6 separate regions of the Homo sapiens genome follow, and regions 1, 2, 3, 4 and 6 are each linked to region 5. Evidence: promoter capture Hi-C in human tissues and cell types (Jung and others, 2019). All regions are on one chromosome and are shown on one strand. Each heading gives the region's core, a stretch centred on a gene start or on the middle of the fragment in contact. The rest is flanking DNA. Distances are from core to core; before and after follow the strand shown.

Region 1 (3,240 bases), core at 313-2,812, 450 kb after region 5:
TTCCCCCCAGGCCTCTAATGGGAGATGGCCATGTCCAAGTCAAGCATCTTCCCCTCTGTACAACTCAGTCACTGGACATCTTAGGATCACCCTATCATGAATCAGAGCTCGAAGCAGGGAGAGCGGCAAGAGGTTGAGACTTGCTAATGTTATGAGGTACCTGTTGTATGCCAGGCACCCACTGGCCTCTGCAGGCTGTACCCCACCCTCTAGGAGGGGACCTGCTTGGCTTGGCAGGCCTGTCATGTTCTGAGCAAGGTGACAGAGGCACACATGTGTCATCTGCTGAGACCAGGCACCAGGCAGGTGGCTTTATGTGCTGTGGGCAGGACACCAGCAGGTGCAAAGGGCCTCAGGCAGGGATGACCTGGTGTATGTGAAGGCAGGAAGAAGGCCAATCAGCCAGGTCAAAGTGAGCAAGCGGAGAGGGTAGGAGGTAGAGCAGGCAGGACGGAGAGGGGCCAGGCCTTCTGAGCTGCCAGGTAGAATTGGGAGTTACTTCTTTTTTTTTTTTTTTTTTTTTTTGGAGACGGAGTCTCGCTCTGTCGTCCAGGCTGTAGTGCAGTGGCGTGATCTCGGCTCACTGCAAGCTCCGCCTCCCGAGTTCAAGAGATTCTTGTGCTTTGCCTCCTGAGTAACTGGAATTACAGGCAAGCACCACCATGTCCAGCTAATTTTTGTATTTTTAGTAGAGACAGCCTTTCACCATTTTGGTGAGGCTGGTCTCGAACTCCTGACCTCAAATGATCCACCCGCCTCAGCCTGTAATCCCAGGCTGGGATTACAGGCGTGAGCCACTGCGCCTAGCCTGGGACTCACTTCTTGATGATGAGCTCGTGGAGCCCAGGGCTGGACCTGCACACTCACTGCTCTGTGGCTCCACACATGGAGGAGCTGAAAACGCCAGTGGTAGACACAGTCAACAAGCAAACAAAACTAGACTGTATCGATCAGGGGCAAGTACTCCAAAGACAAGAACTAAAGCAGGGCAGGAGGTAGAAAATGAGATGGCTGCAGGTACATGATATTTTATGAGGATCAAACAAGATTATTTAGCTGAAAGCTAACTTAATATAGTGCGGCTATACTTTAATATCATAAGGTCCATATCTCTTCGTGCATTTATTCATTTCCTACATAGTCTGCATCTAACTCTAAAAAGGTTTTAAGGCCGCTCCGCACCAGGCATATAAGTACTCAGGGAATGTGAATTCCTTGTCCCCTCTTCCGCTTTGAGTTAAGAAGATGCCTCTCTTGCCTGCTGCTGACAGCGTGTGGGGTGGCATTCCCAGCTCATCCCACATGAGGTGGGGCACTGAGGCAATGGGCTGCCAACAAGTGAGTTTTGACGTCACAGCTTGAGGCTCGAGCAGGTGGGGCCCCACCCGCAGAATGCCCGGGAGCATTGGGGAAGGGCCCTTCCAGCAAGCCCAGACAACTCATGCAGCTTCCCAAGGGCAGGGCTGCTTCTTTCTGAAGAGCACAGTGTGTTCCCACTGCTCCCCATTCCCCCGTGCCAGGACTTCCTCTCCCTCTCTCCCAGCGGCATCCCGGACGCTCTGATCCCACCGAGTCCCTGGAGAGGTACAAAGCTTAGGGATGAGGGGAGGAAGGGGGCCAGGTGCAGTGGCTCACACCTGTAATCCCAGCACTTTGAAAAGCCAAGGCCAGAGGATCACTTAGCCCAGGAGTTCGAGACCAGCCTGGACAACACAGTGAGATCCTGTCTCTGCAAAAAAATTTTAAAAACATTAGTTAGCCGTGGACACACACACCTGTAGTCCCAGCTACTTGGGAGGCTGAGGTGGGAGGATCACTTGAGCTCAAGAGATCCAGGCTGCAGTGAGCCATGATTGCACCACGGCACTCCAGCCTGGGAGACAGAGCGAGACCCTATCTCAAAAAAAAAAAACAAAAAAAAACATGAGGACATTTTTTGAGCATTTGCCTTGAGTCCAACCCTGTGCTAAGTCAGCGGCTGGAGAGAGGGAGGGAGGCAGAGATGAATAGAGAGATCTGTCCGGAGCTGAGGCCAGATGCTCCAGCTATGAAGATGCAGTGACCCTAATGTCCCCTTCCCTCCTTACTAAGGTATAGGAGTTGCCCGAAGGGCCTCCGCAGGATGAGCCCTAAGACTTACAGAGCAATCGAGAGGAGAAAGCATCACATCTTTGGGGTCTTCCAGTTGTCAGAAGCTTGTGGCCCCCAGGAAGCCCTACAGGTTTGGGAACAACTGAAGGTCACAGTTCTCGTCTTCTGGGTGGCTGGCCCTCTGTGGCAGGTTTGTGGCCACAGTGGGGTCAGTGCCCCCTCCCGCCACCATGAGATTGTAACTTAAGGAAATGAGGTCACCGTTGGTTGGATCAACATGGCTCCAGCCCCAGCCTGTGGTTATCAGTGACATAAGACGCTTATTCTGGCCTGGGCCTGGTGGGGGGTGAGGGGGAGGCACATTTGTTTGGGTGGTTGGGCTCCAACCTGGCTTTGGACAGGCCGTTAATTATCCTTGGGAAAGAGGCCCCACAGAGTGTTCTGAAACTCCGTGTTTTCAGGGAGCAGGCCCCTCCTCAGGCAACCTGGCCACAGAATGTTCCAGCCTCTGACTGCCCAGTCTCTGACTGCTCTGAATAATTATTAACCTCATGAGGATTTATACTAATAAAATATAGTAACTGGAACTCTCCACTGATAGTTTATAATGTAATATAACTCATGGTACCTTCCATACTATAACTCATGGATTTATAGTGTGCATGCCAACACCTAGGTCAGCACTTTATTTTTATTTTTATTTTTTGTTTGTTTGTTTTTTGAAACAGGGCCTCATTCTGTTGCCCGGGCTGGAGGGCAGTGGCTCAATTATGGCTTAATGTAGCCTCGACCTCCAGGGCGATCCTTCTGCCTCAGCCTCCCGAGTGGCTGGGACTACAGGCATGAGCCACCATGCCTGGCTAATTTTTTAATTCTTTGTAGAGACAGGGGTCTCCCTGTATGTTACCCAGGCTGGTCTCAAACTTCTGGGCTCAAGCAATTCTCCCACCTTGGCCTCCCAAAGTGCTGGGATTATAGGCATGCAGGCTGCCCCCGGCAGGTCAGCACTTCATGATGGTCATCTCATTGGTCATCGCAGAACCCCTTGAGGCAACTACTACTGTTCACCCCATGTTACAGCTGGGGAAACTGAGGCACCAGGCGGCCAAAACCACATGAAGCACTAAGTGGTGTAACTGGAGTCAAACA
Region 2 (2,921 bases), core at 167-2,666, 280 kb after region 5:
TGTGTGTATGGGGGCCAGTTGGGGAGACCAGGGAAGGCCTCTCTGAGCAGGTGAATTTGGGCAGAGACCTGGGGGAGATGCTGGCACTGTGGGGCAGGTGCCCAGGCTCTGCGGGCACCTGGGAGGGAGGCCTGCAGGGTAAAGCAAAGAGAGTGAAGGCAGGGAGGGGGTGGCAGGGCCTGAGCAGCTAGGGCTTGGTGTACCAGCCAGGCATTGGAGGTGTCCCCCAAGCGTGTTGGGGAGGTGGGACTCTCAGAGCCATATTTTCAAAGGACCCCTCTGGCTGCCTTGTGGCCAAGGATGGAAGCCCAGCAGGGACTTGAGGCCAGGCGAGAGACAACTGGGCAGTCCTGAGGGGTGGGCCCTGGAGGGGTGGGCGGCAGCCGAGCCAGCATATATTTTGGAGGAAGAGCTGCGAGGCAGGCCTAGGTGGGAGGGAGATAAAGTCATCAACACAGCTCCAGGGTTTGGGCTGATCCACTTGCAGGAAGGGATGGAGGCCGTGGTGGGGAAGGTGGGAACAGAGCAGGGTCACAGAGGCAAACCCCAGAGATGGGCAGGGTTCCAGCCCACAGGGAGCCTTGGGAGCCCTGCAGGCAACCAACGAACCCCCTCTGGACTGCTCTGAGGACAGCGGAGGAGCCATCGAAGGCTTGCAGGCAGGAGAGTTCCAGAACAATTCTGGTGTGACCTCCTCGCAAAAGCCTCTTGGTGCACGTGGCCTCTCCCCTGCACAAGTCATAAAGTCACTTCATCTGGTGATCTTGACTCAGTTTCCCCAATAATTTGTTGCATTCTAAAAGCTTTTGCTCTGTGCCAGGCACTGGACTAACTCCTATACCAGCGCTCATGCATGAATGATGAGGCAGAGACTATTTATCCCTCCACTATTTCACAGAGGCAAAGACAGACACAGAGAGGGACAGCCACTTGCCCAACGGCACACAGCTGAGAAGCTGGGATTCAGACCCAGGCAGTCTGGCTCTCGAGTCTGTGTGTCCAACCACTCCACTCCACCCCCTGGCTCCCCACACACATACCTGCATGCACACACACACACACACACACACACACACACACACACACGCATAAACATACACACATGTGTGCATCTGCACATGAGGCGTGGAGAGCCTGTGCTGGAGGATGCTGTCCCGGCCGGCCTGGTTTTATGTGCAGGGCCCCCTCTGTGTTTATTCATTCACTAGATAAATATTTCTATGGGAGGGCCAGACTGGGGCTGCTGGGAAGCCGAGATGAGGAGCCCGTGTTTCCTGCCTGCACAGGGATAGGGAGAGGTGGGGACCCGGGGCGGTGAAGTCCATCAGGCAGGTTGCGCGGTGCCTGGAGAGAGGGAAGCCCCACACAGGGCCAGGGGCGGGCAGGAGCAGGGACAGGAGAGCATGGGGAGTCACCCCAGCCCTGTGTGACCATGGGCAAGTCACCTCTGCTCCCAGCCTCAGATTCCACCTTGCTGTCATGGGGACAGGGACGCCTACCTCCTAGAGCTGTCATGAAGGTTCTGCAGGAAGAGTCACAGCACCAACCCTCTCATGGTTGTTCTTTCTTTCCTACTGTGGCGAAAAATGGTGACTGTTACGCTGCCACTCCATGGAGAGAAGCAGGACTTCTGTTTCACAGACTGGGTTTAACATTCCCAGGGCCTTTTTTTTTTCTCTCTCTCTGAGAAGTTCCTTTGCTCAGCAAGGCTGTCGGGGGCACTGGTAAAGGTTGGGTGCTGGGTCTTGGCTCCTTAGCACCCCACTTCCCACCCCCCACCCCCCACCCCCAGTGACTCTGGCAGCGGATGTGGGGACACCGAGCCACAGGGATTCTCAGCTGTCGCTCGACACAGCGGATCCAGGGCCCTTATTTAGAGCCTTGGCTCAGGGGGCTGGGGGAGACGCTCTCTGTCCCAACAGTAATTCCCTTGCTCTCCCCACCTCCTCACCCTCCTAGGGGTGGGGCTCAAGAACTCAGACTCCCCAGCCTTGGGCCTGGGCTCAGAACCTTTCCTGGGCCCTTCCAGAAACCCTCCCTGCCACCGGCTGACCAGTGGCCTGGACTCCTGCATTTAGTGGCTGCTGCAGAGTGAGTTAGTGACCTGGAGAGAAGGAAATAGAGGCTCCCTCTGGAAGGGAGGTGTGTTATGAAAGTGTTTCCCTCTGCTGGGACACCCAGACCCCTACCAGTATCATTGGACTTGAACACCACGTTAGACAACATGTGTCTTCATACGAATACACATAACATAGCAGACAGCCTAGAAGGAAGACTAGAAGGAAAGATGGCAACATGTTGATATTCCTGTCTCTGGGTGGTGTGAGGTTATGAGTGGTCTTTATTTACATGTCTTTTTTTTTCTGTATTTGCTAAATTTTCTCCATTGAAAATGTACTACTATTAAAATCACAAGAAAAAAGTACCTTTTAAAAAGGATCTATTGTATATTTTCCATTTTGTTAAATGGAAGCATAAGATATAAAATATCTCACTTCTGGACACAAAAATATACGTGTAACATTGAAAAGTTAAAATTGTAAGATTACATATAACCCACATGAGAACAGAACATATGTCAAACCTGCGACTACAGTAACGTGTATGTGTATTTGTAGATTCTGAATAAGAAAATTTTATGTGAGAGAGAATGGAAGTACTATGCCCTGTAGGGTCCCCCACTACCACACAAAGAGAGGGCTCCCATTTATTTATGTCTGACTGTCGTGCTAGGCTACGAGGCAATTGAGGGTCAAGGGAAACTTTTACTTCTCTCTGTGTCCTAATGAGGACTTGACACTCAATAAACATTTGTAGATGAACAAGCAAATATCTGCTTTAAAAATAAATGGGCTGCGCACGGTGGCTTATGGCTATAATCCAGCACTTTGGGAGGCCGAGGTGGGCAGATCACTTGAAGT
Region 3 (3,168 bases), core at 635-3,134, 300 kb after region 5:
TATCTTGAATGTATTGGTAGGTATAATACAGTCTGCAAACAATTGTTGAAATTTAAAAATATACAAAACTGTATAAATCTGTCAGAATATATTAAATTGTAAGCTTAAGTGAGATATAGTTATTAAAATAAATATTATCTCAATGAAGTTAGAAAAAGGAAAACTTTAAAAAGTGCACCAGAGCTAATGATAGTGCTCTGCTCCATGAAGTCCTTGTCAGACATATGAAGGGTCTGAGATTTCTTTTCTCCTACTTGCAAACTAACAACGAGCTTACCACAATTGCACAGATGCCAGCAGAAGACTCAGGACTCTTAGGTCAGAGACAAAGGACTTTATTACTCACAACACAGTAGGCAGCTCAAGCTTTATCTTTGCTCTGGTTTACTTGCCTCCTAAGTTCCATGGGGCTGGAGCAGGAGGCCCAGGTGGATCCTGTGCACACAGGGCTCATGTCAGAGCTGAGATATACTGAGCTTAGGAAACTCCTAATCTTATAAGCATAAGAGGCTGCTAACGAACCCGGTCAACATTCAACCTGGAGAAAGGCATTATCTTTATAATCCTGGTCAGGAAATAAATCTGTCCTCTGCTCCAGAGTGAGACACTATTCCTGCTCCCCCAGGCTATTTGTCATATAAACATCCTGAAAAGATGGTTCCACGCAAAAGGTGTCACAAGAGGTATAAGAATGCCATGGAGAATTGCCCCTCAACAGTCCTAAGGGAAGGAGACTCCCTCTGTCTTTCTGCTCTGCCGTCATTCCCGACATCACTTCATGGCTAAAAATGGCTGCCTCAGCTCCAGCCATCACTCTGTATTCCAGACCACAGGAAGGACAAAACAGGGAAGAAATGTATCAGCCCTCTCTTTAAGGACACTCCCTGGAAGTTGCACACACATTAGGTTTGACATTCAAACAGCTATGTCTGGCTGTAAGAGAGGCTGGGGAATGTGGACATATACCTGGCCAAAAGCCTATTACTAAGGAAGACTAGAGCCTGGGGAACAACCAGCCTTTCTGCTCTACATAGTCAGTGTCACAGTGGTCTGTGAATCTCTACATAGTCAGCATCACAATGGTCTGTCACAATGGTCTGTAAGTGGTCTATCAAGTGCTGAGGACACAGGACACATGAACCTTTATTCTAGGAGTCCTTGGGGGAGCTTCTCATTTAGTGCCATCCTTGGTACTTCCTACTTTCCCCAACCTTAAAGGGGATGTTAGGCCCCTGAGTGAGGGTGGGATTCACCCTTGTCTTGCCTGGTACAGTGGAAGGCCCTGCCAGGCTTAGGTCTTGGACCACACACTGTGTTAAACCTGAGCTGTGGGTAAGTCCTCTCCTTCTCCAGGCCTCAGCTACTCCCTCCAGGTGACATGGTGTATTAGTTTGTTTTGCATTGCTATAAAGGGATACCCAAGACTGGGTAATTTATAAAGAAAAGAGGTTTATTTGGCCCACAGCTCTGCAGGCTGTACAGGCAGCATGGTGCCAGCATCTGCTCAGCTTCTGGTGAGTCCTCTGGAAGCTTCTAGTCATGGTGGAAGCTAAAGGAAGGAGCCTGTGTATCAAATGGTGAGAGGGTACAAGAGGGAGAGGGAGGAAGGGCCAGGCTCTTTTAAATAGCCAGATCTCGGCAGGTGCAGTGGCTCATACCTATAATCCCAGCACTTAAGGAGGCCAAGGCAGGCAGATCACTTGGGGTCAGGAGTTCAAGACCAGCCTGGCCAACATGGTGAAATCCCGTCGGTACTAAATATACAAAAATTAGCCTGGCATGGTGGCAGTTGCCTATAATCCCAGCTACTGGAGAGGCTGAGGCAGGAGAATTGCTAGAACCCAGGAGGCAGAGATTGCAGTGAGCCGAGATCATGCCACTGCACTCCAGCCTGGGCAATAGAGTGAGACTCCATCTTAAAAAATATATAAATAAATAAATAAACAGCCAGATCACACGTGAACTCGTAGTCAGAACTCACTTGGCTGGGCACAGTGGCTCATGCCTGTAATCCCAGCACTTTGGGAGGCCGAGGCAGGCGGATCACTTGAGGTTAGGAGTTCAAGACCAGCTTGGCCAACATGGTGAAACCCTGTCTCTACTAAAAATACAAAAATTAGCCCGATGTGGTGGTGGGTGCCTGTAATCCCAGCTACTCAGGAGGCTGGGGCAGGAGAATCACTTGAACCCAGTAGGCGGAGTTTGCAGTGAGCCGAGATCAAGCCATTGCACTGTCCAGCCTGGGTGACAGAGCGAGACTCTGTCTCAAAAAAAAAAAAAAGAACTCACTCATTACCCCGAGGACAGCACCAAGCCATTCATGAGGGACGAACCCACCCCCATGGCCCAAACACCTCCCACTAGTCCCCACCTCCAATACTGGAGGTCACATTTCAAGGTGAGATTTGGAGGGGACAAAACATCCAAACTCTATCAATGGTTTGCTAAACGTGGCAATAATAATAAGCCCACCAAGCAGGCTAGATGGATGTACTAAATCAGTCACATATGTAAAGCAAATACTGGGTGAGACCTGTCTCAAAAAATAAAGCAGATAAGTAGGAATCTGAAGCCCAGAGAGGTGATGTAACTTGCTGAGAGTCACACAGCAAGGAAATGCTACACTTGGGGCTAGAACACAAAGCTGCTGCCTGAAGTCTTTGGCTATGGCTCAGAAAGTCTTAAGTCATTGATGATGATGAGGACACGACGAAGGAGAGTGGCCAGTGAAACCTACAACAGACCCTTCCTCTGGCTCATGGTGAAGGGAGAACAGCCTAAACTGCTCATCCGATGATGACATTGAGGGAAGCTGGGGCCAGCGGACAGGCTAGTGCTTTCCAGTCCTTCTTCCCGGCTGGTCATTTCCTTGGCTTCAGAGCAGCCCGGTGCCCACACTCTGAAACACCCACCGCAGGGGACACGGGGCTCTGATCCTTTTTGCGTAAAATAGCAGCATAAGGGCAGGGACCCTCATGAGGGCTCTTGGGAATTCAGTTCTAGGGAAGAAGGTTGGGCCTGGAACAAGTCCTGAGGCCTTTATTCCTCTTATAAAATCTATGGAACAGCAATAAATTGGCATCAGGTCATCCCTCGACACTTGAGATGGGAGTCCTTCCTGTGCCACGTGCTCAGCCTTCTAGGGCTCAAGGGTCACCTCTTCCAGGA
Region 4 (2,947 bases), core at 177-2,676, 360 kb after region 5:
TCAGGGTATATGTACAAGAATGGTCATAGCTGTCGTTTATTAAAAATTCTGGAACCAGCTGGGCGTGGTGGCTCAAGCCTGTAATCCCAGCACTTTGGGAGGCTGAGGCGGGCAGATCACTTGAGGTCAGGAGTTTGAGACCAGCCTGGCCAACATGGTGAAACCCTGTCTCTACTAAAAACACAAAAATCAGCCTGGCATGGTGGTGCGTGTCTGTAGTTCCACCTACTTGGGAGGCTGAGGCAGGAGAATCACTTGAACCTGGGAGGCAGAAGTTGTGGTGAGCCGAGATTGTGCTATCGCACTCCAGCCTGGGTGACAGAATGAGACTTCATCTCAAAAAAATAAATAAAATTCTGGGACCATTTTACATACATTAGGATGGCTATGATAAAAAAAAAATTTTAAATAAAAATGCCAGAAAATAACAGGTGTTGGTGAGCATGTGGGGAAATTAGAATGCTTGTGCACTACTGGTGGGAAATGTAGCATGGTGCAGAGACTGTGGAAAACACACTGTGGATCCTCAAAAAATTACACATAGAATTACCATATGATCCAGAAATTCCACTTTTGAGAATACACCCAAAATAACTGAAAGCAGGGGTCTGGGGCGGTGGCTTAAGCCTGTAGTCCCAGAACTTTGGGAGGCCAAGTGTCTCACGCGTCCGTGTGACGAGACCACCAAACAGGCTTTGTGTGAGCAATAAAGCTTTTTAATCACCTGGGTGCAGGCAGGCTGAGTCCAAAAAGAGAGTCAGCAAGGGGTGGTGGGATTATCATTCGTTCTTACAGGTTTTGGGATAGGAGGTGGAGTTAGGAGAAATGTTTTGCGGGCAGTGGGTGGATCTCACAAAGTACATTCTCAAGGGTGGGGAGAATTACAAAGAACCTTCTTAAGGGTGGGGGAGAAACAAATCACAATGGTGGAATGTCATCAGTTAAGGCTATTTTCACTTCTTTTGTGGATCTTCAGTTACTTCAGGCCATCTGGATGTATACGTGCAGGTCACAGGGGATATGATGGCTTAGCTTGGGCTCAGAGGCCTGACACCGAGGCAGGTAGATCACTTGAGGCCAGTAGTTCGAGACCAGCCTGGCCTGAACATGGCGAAACCCCGTCTCTACTAAAAATGCAAAAATTAGCCGGGTGTGGTCGTACACACCTGTAATCCCAGCTACTTGGGAGACTGAGGCAAGAGAATCGCTTGAACTCTCTTGAGGCAGAGGTTGCAGTGAACTGAGATTGTGCCACTGCACTCCAGCCTGAGCAACAGAGCGGGAATGTTAAAAAAAAAAAAAAATTGAAAGCAGAAACTCAAACAGATATTTTATACTGATGGTCATAGCAGCATTCTTCACAATAGCTAAAAAAGGTGGAAGCAACCCAAATGTCCATCAATGGATAAATAAACAAAATATGGTATATACATATAATAGAATATCTTTCAGCCTCAAAAGGAAGGAAATTCTGACATATGCAACAACATGGATGAACCTTGAGGACGTTATGCTAAGTGAAACAAGCTAGACTCACAAAAAGACAAATACTGTATCATTCCACTTATATGAGGTCCCTAAAGTTGTCAAATTCATAGAGACAGAAGGTAGAATGCTGGTTGCCAAAGGCTGAGGGGAGAGAGGAATGGAGAGTTATGGCTTAATGGGTGCGGAGTTTTAGTTTGGGAAGATGAAAAATTCTGGAGATGGATGGTGGCAATGGTTGTACAACAATGTGAATGTACTTAATACCACTGAACTATACACTTAAAAATGGCTAAAATGAGGCTGGGGGTGGTGGCTCACACCTGTAATCCTGGCATTTGGAAGACCGAGGCAGGTGGATCACTTGAGGTCTGGAGTTCAAGACCAGCCTGGCCAACATGGAGAAATCCCATCTCTACTAAAAATACCAAAATTAGCCGAGCATGGTGGCAGGCGCCTGTAGTCCCAGCTACTCGGGAGGCTGAGGCAGGAGAATGGCATGAACCTGGGAGGCAGAGGTTGCAGTGAGCTGAGGTTTTGCCCCTGCATTCCAGTCTGGGAGACAAGAGTGAAACTGTCTCCAAAAAAAAAAAAAAAAAGAAAGAAAGAAAGCAATGGCTAAAAAGGTAAATGTTTATATATATAGACAGAGTATAGACATATATACACATGTATACAACATATACACATGTATATGCTGTATGTACATGTGTATATCATAATAGAAAAATACCAGTAATCATTTAGCTTAATAAAATGTTTTAAAGATAAAAAAAAAATTCCTGGAAACCACCCACATGTATATCAGCAGGAGCATAGATAAATACAGTATATTCATACGGTGTATTATTGTACAGCAATGACAATGAATGATCTAAACCTGCACCATCAACACGGGTGAATCTCACAAACACAATACATGAAAAGGGCAAATTACAAAATAATACAATCCAATTATATATAAAGGTAAAAAACATTACATCATTTTGGGACTCTATCTATCTATCTATCTATCTATCGTAAAACTATATAAAGAAAAGCAAAGGGGCCAGGCGTGGTGACTCACACCTGTAATCTCAGCACTTTGGGAGGCCGAGGTGGGAGGATTGCTTGAGTTCAGGAGTGTGAGACCAGCCTGGGAAACATGGTGAAACTCTGTCTCTACAACAAATAAAAAATTAGCCAGGCATGGTGGCGCATGCCTGTAGTCCCAGCTACTCAGGAGGCTGAGGCAGGAGAATTGCTTGAGCTCAGGAGGTCGAGGCTGCAGTGAGCCGTGATTATGCCACTGCACTCCAGCCAAGGCAACAGAGCAAGACCTTGTCTAAAAAAAAAAAAAAAAAAAAAGAACGATTTGCACAAATTCAAGACGGTGGCTACTCAGGGTGGGTAGAAAGAGGCACATGATCAGAGTGGGGCATGAGAGGGCTTCTTGGATATTGATGATGATCTATTTCTTAAG
Region 5 (3,169 bases), core at 230-2,729:
CCCGGCTATCTCCTTTCAGAATTTCACAGGCTATTCACGGAAGGCATGCAGATCTACTTTGTAAGAATTAGTTCTTAAAAAAAAAAGATCTGAAGACGACTTCCAGGGAGGCCAAGGAGCTTAATTTAGCCAGCCAACGCCCTTTTCTATTCATTGTTCTATACTTCTTTGTTAGGATTTTTTCCCTCCCTCTTACTCTTTTTCCCTTCCTGGTTAACTTCTCTGCAGCCAGGCTCCGCCACTGCCCACTTCTCACCGCCAGAGACACTATAGCCCCCTTCCCTGCTGTAATGAGGCCCTCCCCAAGGCCTCATGTGGGCCCATCACCCCACATCCCCTTTATCTCCACCTAGAACCTGCGAGGTGGTCCCAGGGCCTCCTGAATCTGCAGACGTGTCCCCTAGGTTGCTGCGGAAGCCACTTTCCACCTGCAGGTCACCGTCAGCCCCAGGCACCCCTGCTGGAGGGAGGGAAGCCCGAATGCAGCTCTATGTTCCAGGACCTGCAACCTCTGAGCCTCAGCCTTCCTATCTGCAAAACGACGCTACTGTCCCATTTTCTCAAGTCCTTGCCAGCTCCAAACAAGATTCCCATGTTCCAGAGGGAGATGCCAGGAGAAAACTTTCGTACATTTTAAAACAGAAGTTACTGGAGAGAGGGGGCAGGGGATGTTTTTAACCCTTTAAAGGCGTAGCCACTCAAATGATCCATTCCCAGAGATCTCCTCCATCGCCCAGGCCGGCTCTTGCCAAAGAACGGAGTCAAATTCGGCGAACCCTAGAGGGGCTACCTGTGGCTGGGGACTGCGGGTCTGCGCGCCTCTGGACAAGGAGGGGCAAGGCGGGCGGCCTGAGAACAGGCACTTCTGTCTCTCCCGCTTTCTGTCTCAGACCCCTCACCGGCTGGAGCCAGACTTTTCCACAGATGAGCAGGACGGGAGTTGGGGGGACACGGAGAAGACAGAAAGGGGTAGAGGAGCCGCAGGGAGGCGAGTAGGGGGGCGAGGCGGGAGGAAGGGATGGAGGGGGAGAACGAGGCAAAAGCGGGGAGGGGAGGGGAGGGAGGGAGGAGGAGTCGGGAGGGACCCGGGCAGCGCCGCCGCAGAGCCGAGGGGAGAGCAGGGGAGGAGGGGACGGGAAGCGCTGGAGGCAGAAGTTTTCCAAGCCGGGGGCCCTCGGTCGCCCCCGACGGGGCGCGGGCTCAAGGGGGCGTGGGGGCCGCGCCGCACTCACATAATGCTTGTTGGGCACCCGCCGCTTCTGCACGTCTAGCACCTTCACCTCCACGATGCTGCGCCGCGGCGGCATGGCCGCTCCTCCGCCCGCAGCGGGCCGAGCGCGGGTGCGGGTGGCGCGGGGTGCAGGGAGCGCTGGGGGCGCGCCGCCGCGGGCAGGGAACCTGGAGCTGAGCGCAATCGCAGCCGGGGCCGAGCACGAGCCGCCGCCGCCACCGCCGCCGCCCTTCGCTCGGCGCGCACTCCAGCCGGGCCCAGCCGCCGCCGCCCGCCCCCGGCCCGCCCCCCGCACCGCCCCCCGCACCGCCCCCCGCACCGCCCCCCGCGCCGCCGGCCCGCCCCCCTTAAAGGGCCCGGCCCCGACCCCCGCCCACCGCGCGCGAACCCCGCCGGCCACGTCCGGCCCCCGCCCGGCCTTTGTCCCGGTGCTGAGCCGCCGCGCCGGGGGAGGGGACTGGACTGACCCCGTCGCCCGTTCACTGATTGACGTATCGATTCATTCCAGCACTCTCGCTCCGGCAGCCGCCATCCACCGCCAGTTTGGAGAGCCGGACACCCGGGTTCGAATCCCGGCTTTGCCGCTTTTCCACTCTGTGCCCTCGGCAAGTTGCTTAACCTCTCTGGGTTGGGTCTCTTCGTCTATAATATGAGCCTAGTAGTACAAGCACCATGTTTGTCTTTTTGTGTCTGGCTTATTTCACTCGGCATAATGTCCTCAAGGCTCATCCATGTTGTAGCACGTGTCAGTAGTACCGCCTGCCTGCCGGTGCTGCGCCCGGGATTAAGTGCATGTGAAGCCATTCCGCAGTGCAGTCCATGGTATGAGTGCTGGCGTTCCTAAAGCCACCCCAAGCCCTGGTGATTCAGGAGGAGCAAGAGACCCGTGACCAGGTTCCCCCAGCCTCAGTCTGGGACATGGGGAGTGAGGGAGAGAAAAACTGCAACAAATGCGCATACGTGCAATGTAATTGCCATGGAAGCAACAAAAGGGGATAAAAGGGTGGTGACTATGTGTGAGGGGCAGCTGGGTGCTTGTTAGCAAGGCCATCGATTTCCAGTTGCGGAGCACTTAACTGCTCGCTGGGCCCCGTGGCCCCTGCTTTTCACAAATGCTGTCTTTGCATCCTCAGGCAGACTCTAGGAGGAAAAGGTGTTTTTACAGAGGACGGCCTCCAGACATTTGGACATTTCCAATGAGGCCTGAGGACCCTCTGACTTGGGAACTGTACTTCAGAAGAATGTGCCTTACAGGAATTACATCAGTGAAGGTCCAGAGTCAGGGAGCCGGTGGATGGAGCCCGTCACTGCCTGGCTCTAGGTGGATCTCACACGTTGAAGCTGCCGTGGCTGGGGCAGCTCCTCGTTTCTTCATCTAGTGCCTCCTAGCACTGGCTGGGCACTGAGTCACTTTCAGGAGATGTTGGCTGAATGAATGGATAAATGAATATATAATGCATGGATGGGAGGTTTAGGCTCCTGGCCAGTGTTTTCACAGCCAGTAAGTGGGGGCTCTTTTCAACAAACCGTACGACTCTTCTCCATGCCACGACAGAGCTACTTCCCACCCCGGTCCAGGATCAGCCTTTGGAAAAGGGTGGGCTTATCCAGGGTAGGACGGCTCTCAGCCTCGGCCAGGCCACGTGGATGATTTGGGCTGATTCACTTTGGATCCGCCCCTCCATTTGCTCCTCTGACTTCCTTGCCAGACTTTACCATCCTGCTCCAGCCCCAGAGGCTGGCCTGTGTGGATTTCACTGACAGCTCTCTGTCCTGGTCTTCCTGTTTGGCTTGGCCAGTGGAAGGGCCTGGCAGGAGATTGAGGGCAAGAGGAGAGAGGGAGGTCTGGGTATTTAATCCCTAAGCCCCTCCTCCCCGATTGTTTTTACCAAAGGTGCCCTTTCTCACATGGTCTCTCTCAGGGTTCCTGAAGCCACT
Region 6 (3,301 bases), core at 474-2,973, 380 kb after region 5:
CCTTATGGTCCAGGATGGTGACGCCTACATTCCTGGCAGCCAGATGGAGAAAGGGACACAGAGGGTAAAGCAGACATACCAACTATCCCAGATGCCCCACAAGACACTTCCCTTTACTTCTCAATGCCACATCTAGCTACAAAGGAAGCTGGGGAAATGCAACTTTCACTGTGAGCACCCACATGCCCAGCCAAAAGTTGGGAGCTCTATCCCCACTCGAAAAGAGCAATGATAGTCAACCCTGTCTTGCATTTACTCTGTGCCAGGCATTTGCTGACCTTGGATATCATCCCAAATGCACACTTGATTCAGTAGGTCTGGCCTGGGGACAAGAGTCTGTCCTGTGATGGCCATGTGGCTGGTCTGTGGACCACAGTTTGAGGAGGGAGGATTCGAGGTCAAAGATCCATCATTGCATGTTTCCTCCCACACAGGGCCAACGAATGGCTGTTTGGAAGCAGTGGCTGCTCAAGATCCCTTAACTCTCCCTGCTGTCCCTAGGTTTCCAGTTCAGGCTGAGATTTCCTTTTCTCCCCCAACAGTGTCAGACCACTGACACTGAATGAATGAATGAATGAATGAGTGAATGAATGAAAAGGGAACGCAGAGGTCAGGTCCCGGCATATGCTCTAGGGGAAGGCTTTGGTTCACCACGTCACCCTACCCCAGACCCCGTGCTAGTGTTGTCCCTTCTGAATCCTCCCGGAGGAACCAGCACTGCTGTTCCCCTCTATTTACACAGGGGGAAACTGTCCATTGACTCTGCTTTTGGAACCCGAGCCCTCACCATTCTCCCCTGGGTTTTTTGAAGCCCTGTCCCACCACAACCTTGGAGAAAGGGCCAGTGACAGAACCTCGGGGAAGTTCAGAGTGAGTTTCCCCTACTCAGGTCTTGTGTGACCTCAACTACCATCTCCTCTAATCCAGCAGTCACGGAGGCAGCTGCTCTGTATTCCTGAGGAGGAAACTGAGGCTCTAAGAAGGAGACAATCGGCACAGTCCACGTTGGCCAAGTCACAGTGCAGGTCCCATCTGCCTCTGCCACAACCCTGCATGTTCTCGATGGACCTGGTTCAGAGCAGATGCTCTGTGAATGCCCACTGGAGTGAACGACAGGGGCAGATGGAAGCAGGGACAGCCACTGCCAGCCTCAATAGTTTCAGGTGCCTGGCACTGTGCTAAGCCAGTCTCCTGTTTCTCAGCTGATCCCCAGGAAAACCCCCTCAAGTAGGTGTCATCGTCCTCTTTGTGCAGATATGCAAAAGGGGCGGGGCGGGGGGGGGGCGCTCTGAGAAGCCCAGTGGCTTTCCCAGAGAGACACGGCAGGGGCAGAGGTGAGTCCACCTTAACAGCCTAGGATGGCCGACCTCTTCCCTTCCCCCACAGTATTAGGCCCTCACTCAGAGCTAGACGCTGTGCACGGCCAAAGTCTGTATCACCCCGCCCCCCGCCCCCAACTCAATCACAGTTCAGTGAAACTGTTTACAAATGCAAAAAACTGGGCTCGGAGAAGCAGAGAATTTGTCCGAGGGCATCCAAAGAGATGGAGAAGGAAATCTAAGTGGGAGGCTTGAAGGAATGAGTACTGGAGTCTTTGGGGGACTCCCTTCCCTTCCGACAGCCTCGACTCTCCGCCCCTTCCCTGCCTGCCCGCGGGCCCCTTTAACCGGGTGGCGGAAGGGGCGGCCGGGCGGGCGGCGCCCAATGGGCTGCGCGGAGCGTCACTTCCCGGCAGCGGGAGGCGAGTGGCGAGTGGCGAGTGGCGAGTGTCAGGGGGGCGGCCGGCGGGGGCGGGGCGGCCGGAGGAGGCGTTGGCAGCGGGCTCGGACCCACGCGGCGCCGCGGCCCGCCTGGCCTGCAGCGCTCCCACCCCCGGCGGCGGCACGATGCCCTTTGACTTCAGGAGGTGAGTGTGGCGACCCCGGCCAGTCGGGAGTTCCCTCAGCGGGCAGAGGGAGCGCCCCGGCACGCCGCGGACCCCTCCCGCCCTGCATGCAAAAGCGGCTCCCCGCCCTGTGCATGCCTCCGCAGGCCCCTAGGGACCCCAGGCGAGCCCCCCCCCTGCCGCACACGAAGCCAGCCAGAGCCGCGGAGGCCCCCTCGTGCAGCGGGAGACAAATCCACCCACCTTCCCTCCGCCGAGCCCCCTCCCCAGCCTGCCCGGATACCTTGCATTCCCCTCCCCCACACTAGGAAACATTTCCTCCCTCCTCCCAGATGGGAACAGCCCATAACACCCCAGCATCCCTCTCCTCCCTCTACTGAGCCTCCTTGGTGGACCCCACCTCAGCTGACAGGTGGGGCAGGGCACCTGGAATGAGTCCGGAGGGGCCTGGGGCCCCATGCAGCCTGCCGGCAGCTGGAGGGTTTTAAGTTTCTATAGCCTGAGGCTCCCCCAGGCCGGGCAGATCGGGAGGCCTGCCCCCGCCCCTCCCTCCCTCAGCCCCAGCCCTGTCCGCTGGGTATGGGGGCACCATGGGAAGGGGAGGAGGCGCCTTGGGCAGGACTCTGCAGAAGGGCCACCGGGGTCTGGCCTTGGCTTTCTGCAGTCACCACAATGGGTCCTTTGTGGGGTCCAGCTGCCTCATGGTCTAGGTTGCATGGGGCATTCTGGAAGCCTGCGGGGGAAGAGATCTCCACCAGAGGTTCCCTTGAGGTGTGGAGCCCCAGGGGATGTCCTGGCCTGAGGCAGCCACACTTGGTGTCTGGCTGGGAAAAGAGCAGGGCTTTAATGCAGGGAGGAGCTGGATTAGAATCCTGGCTCTGCCCTTTCTACTGAACAGCTCGGTATATTCTAGAAGTTAGGGGCAAAGGCTCTGGGTTCAGAACTCCCTGTCGCCGCTCGGCTGGCTGACCTCAGCAAGTCTCCGAGCGCCCTCAGTTTCACCACCTGCAAATTGGGGCTAAAAATAAGGTCTCCGCTTGTGACGACTGAGTGCGTGAAACACCCTTAGCAGAGTCTGGCATGATTTAGAGCTCAGAAATAGGGCATTAGTGGATGGGGGGTGTTCTCCAGGAGGGGTTTTCCACATCCACAAAATAGTGATTCAGATGCCTGTGCCACAGGAGGTATTTCTTCCCCTCTTCTTGCATGTGAAGGCAGTGTAAAGTGACAGTCTACCCAGAGAGAAAGGCCCTTAGCCTGCCATGACCCCCATAGCATGGGATATATTGGGGTTTAGGCCCAAAGAGGACACTGGTCTTGGACCTCTTGATTGGTTGACATGGTTTTCCAGCCTGTCCGGGTCCCTGATACCAGCTAGCAAATGTTTGCCGGCTTCTTGCCCCTGCCGGGCAGCCC

The links. The method cuts DNA at HindIII sites, captures the fragments that hold promoters and counts their contacts. A contact is called where the count stands out against the background at its distance.
Region 1: a fragment that was not itself captured here is called in contact with the fragment with the promoter of SH3PXD2B in region 5 in 1 of the 25 tissues and cell types used here (dorsolateral prefrontal cortex).
Region 2: a contact is called between a fragment that was not itself captured here and the fragment with the promoter of SH3PXD2B in region 5, in 3 of the 25 tissues and cell types used here (heart left ventricle, mesenchymal stem cells and neural progenitor cells).
Region 3: a fragment that was not itself captured here is called in contact with the fragment with the promoter of SH3PXD2B in region 5 in 1 of the 25 tissues and cell types used here (mesenchymal stem cells).
Region 4: a fragment that was not itself captured here is called in contact with the fragment with the promoter of SH3PXD2B in region 5 in 1 of the 25 tissues and cell types used here (mesendoderm cells).
Region 6: the fragment with the promoter of ERGIC1 here is called in contact with the fragment with the promoter of SH3PXD2B in region 5 in 3 of the 25 tissues and cell types used here (H1 embryonic stem cells, adrenal gland and mesenchymal stem cells).

Annotation. Positions count from the first base shown.
Region 1 is chr5:172,898,810-172,902,049 of GRCh38, forward strand. The region is part of intron 3 of ERGIC1 (endoplasmic reticulum-golgi intermediate compartment 1); the gene reads left to right. Among named protein-coding and RNA genes, the nearest start is that of MIR10523, 15 kb to the right of the region's middle. RefSeq lists an enhancer at 2,927-3,240. The HindIII fragment of the contact is 4,655 bases long and covers 1-3,240 here.
Region 2 is chr5:172,735,054-172,737,974 of GRCh38, forward strand. No RefSeq gene overlaps it. Among named protein-coding and RNA genes, the nearest start is that of DUSP1, 35 kb to the right of the region's middle. The HindIII fragment of the contact is 6,850 bases long and covers 1-2,921 here.
Region 3 is chr5:172,754,368-172,757,535 of GRCh38, forward strand. It overlaps LOC101928093 (a long non-coding RNA gene), which reads left to right and starts at 1,136. Exons shown (of 4, transcript NR_161233.1): 1 at 1,136-1,332. The HindIII fragment of the contact is 3,300 bases long and covers 235-3,168 here.
Region 4 is chr5:172,812,495-172,815,441 of GRCh38, forward strand. No RefSeq gene overlaps it. Among named protein-coding and RNA genes, the nearest start is that of ERGIC1, 20 kb to the right of the region's middle. The HindIII fragment of the contact is 5,136 bases long and covers 1-2,947 here.
Region 5 is chr5:172,453,046-172,456,214 of GRCh38, forward strand. SH3PXD2B (SH3 and PX domains 2B) reads right to left here and starts at 1,480. Exons shown (of 13, transcript NM_001017995.3): 1 at 1,233-1,480. The coding sequence starts at 1,307. RefSeq lists an enhancer at 446-967. The HindIII fragment of the contact is 19,152 bases long and covers 1-3,169 here.
Region 6 is chr5:172,832,528-172,835,828 of GRCh38, forward strand. ERGIC1 (endoplasmic reticulum-golgi intermediate compartment 1) reads left to right here and starts at 1,724. Exons shown (of 10, transcript NM_001031711.3): 1 at 1,724-1,906. The coding sequence starts at 1,887. RefSeq lists silencers at 1,577-1,976, 2,347-2,396, 2,407-2,486 and enhancers at 2,470-3,301, 2,957-3,166. The HindIII fragment of the contact is 25,389 bases long and covers 1-3,301 here.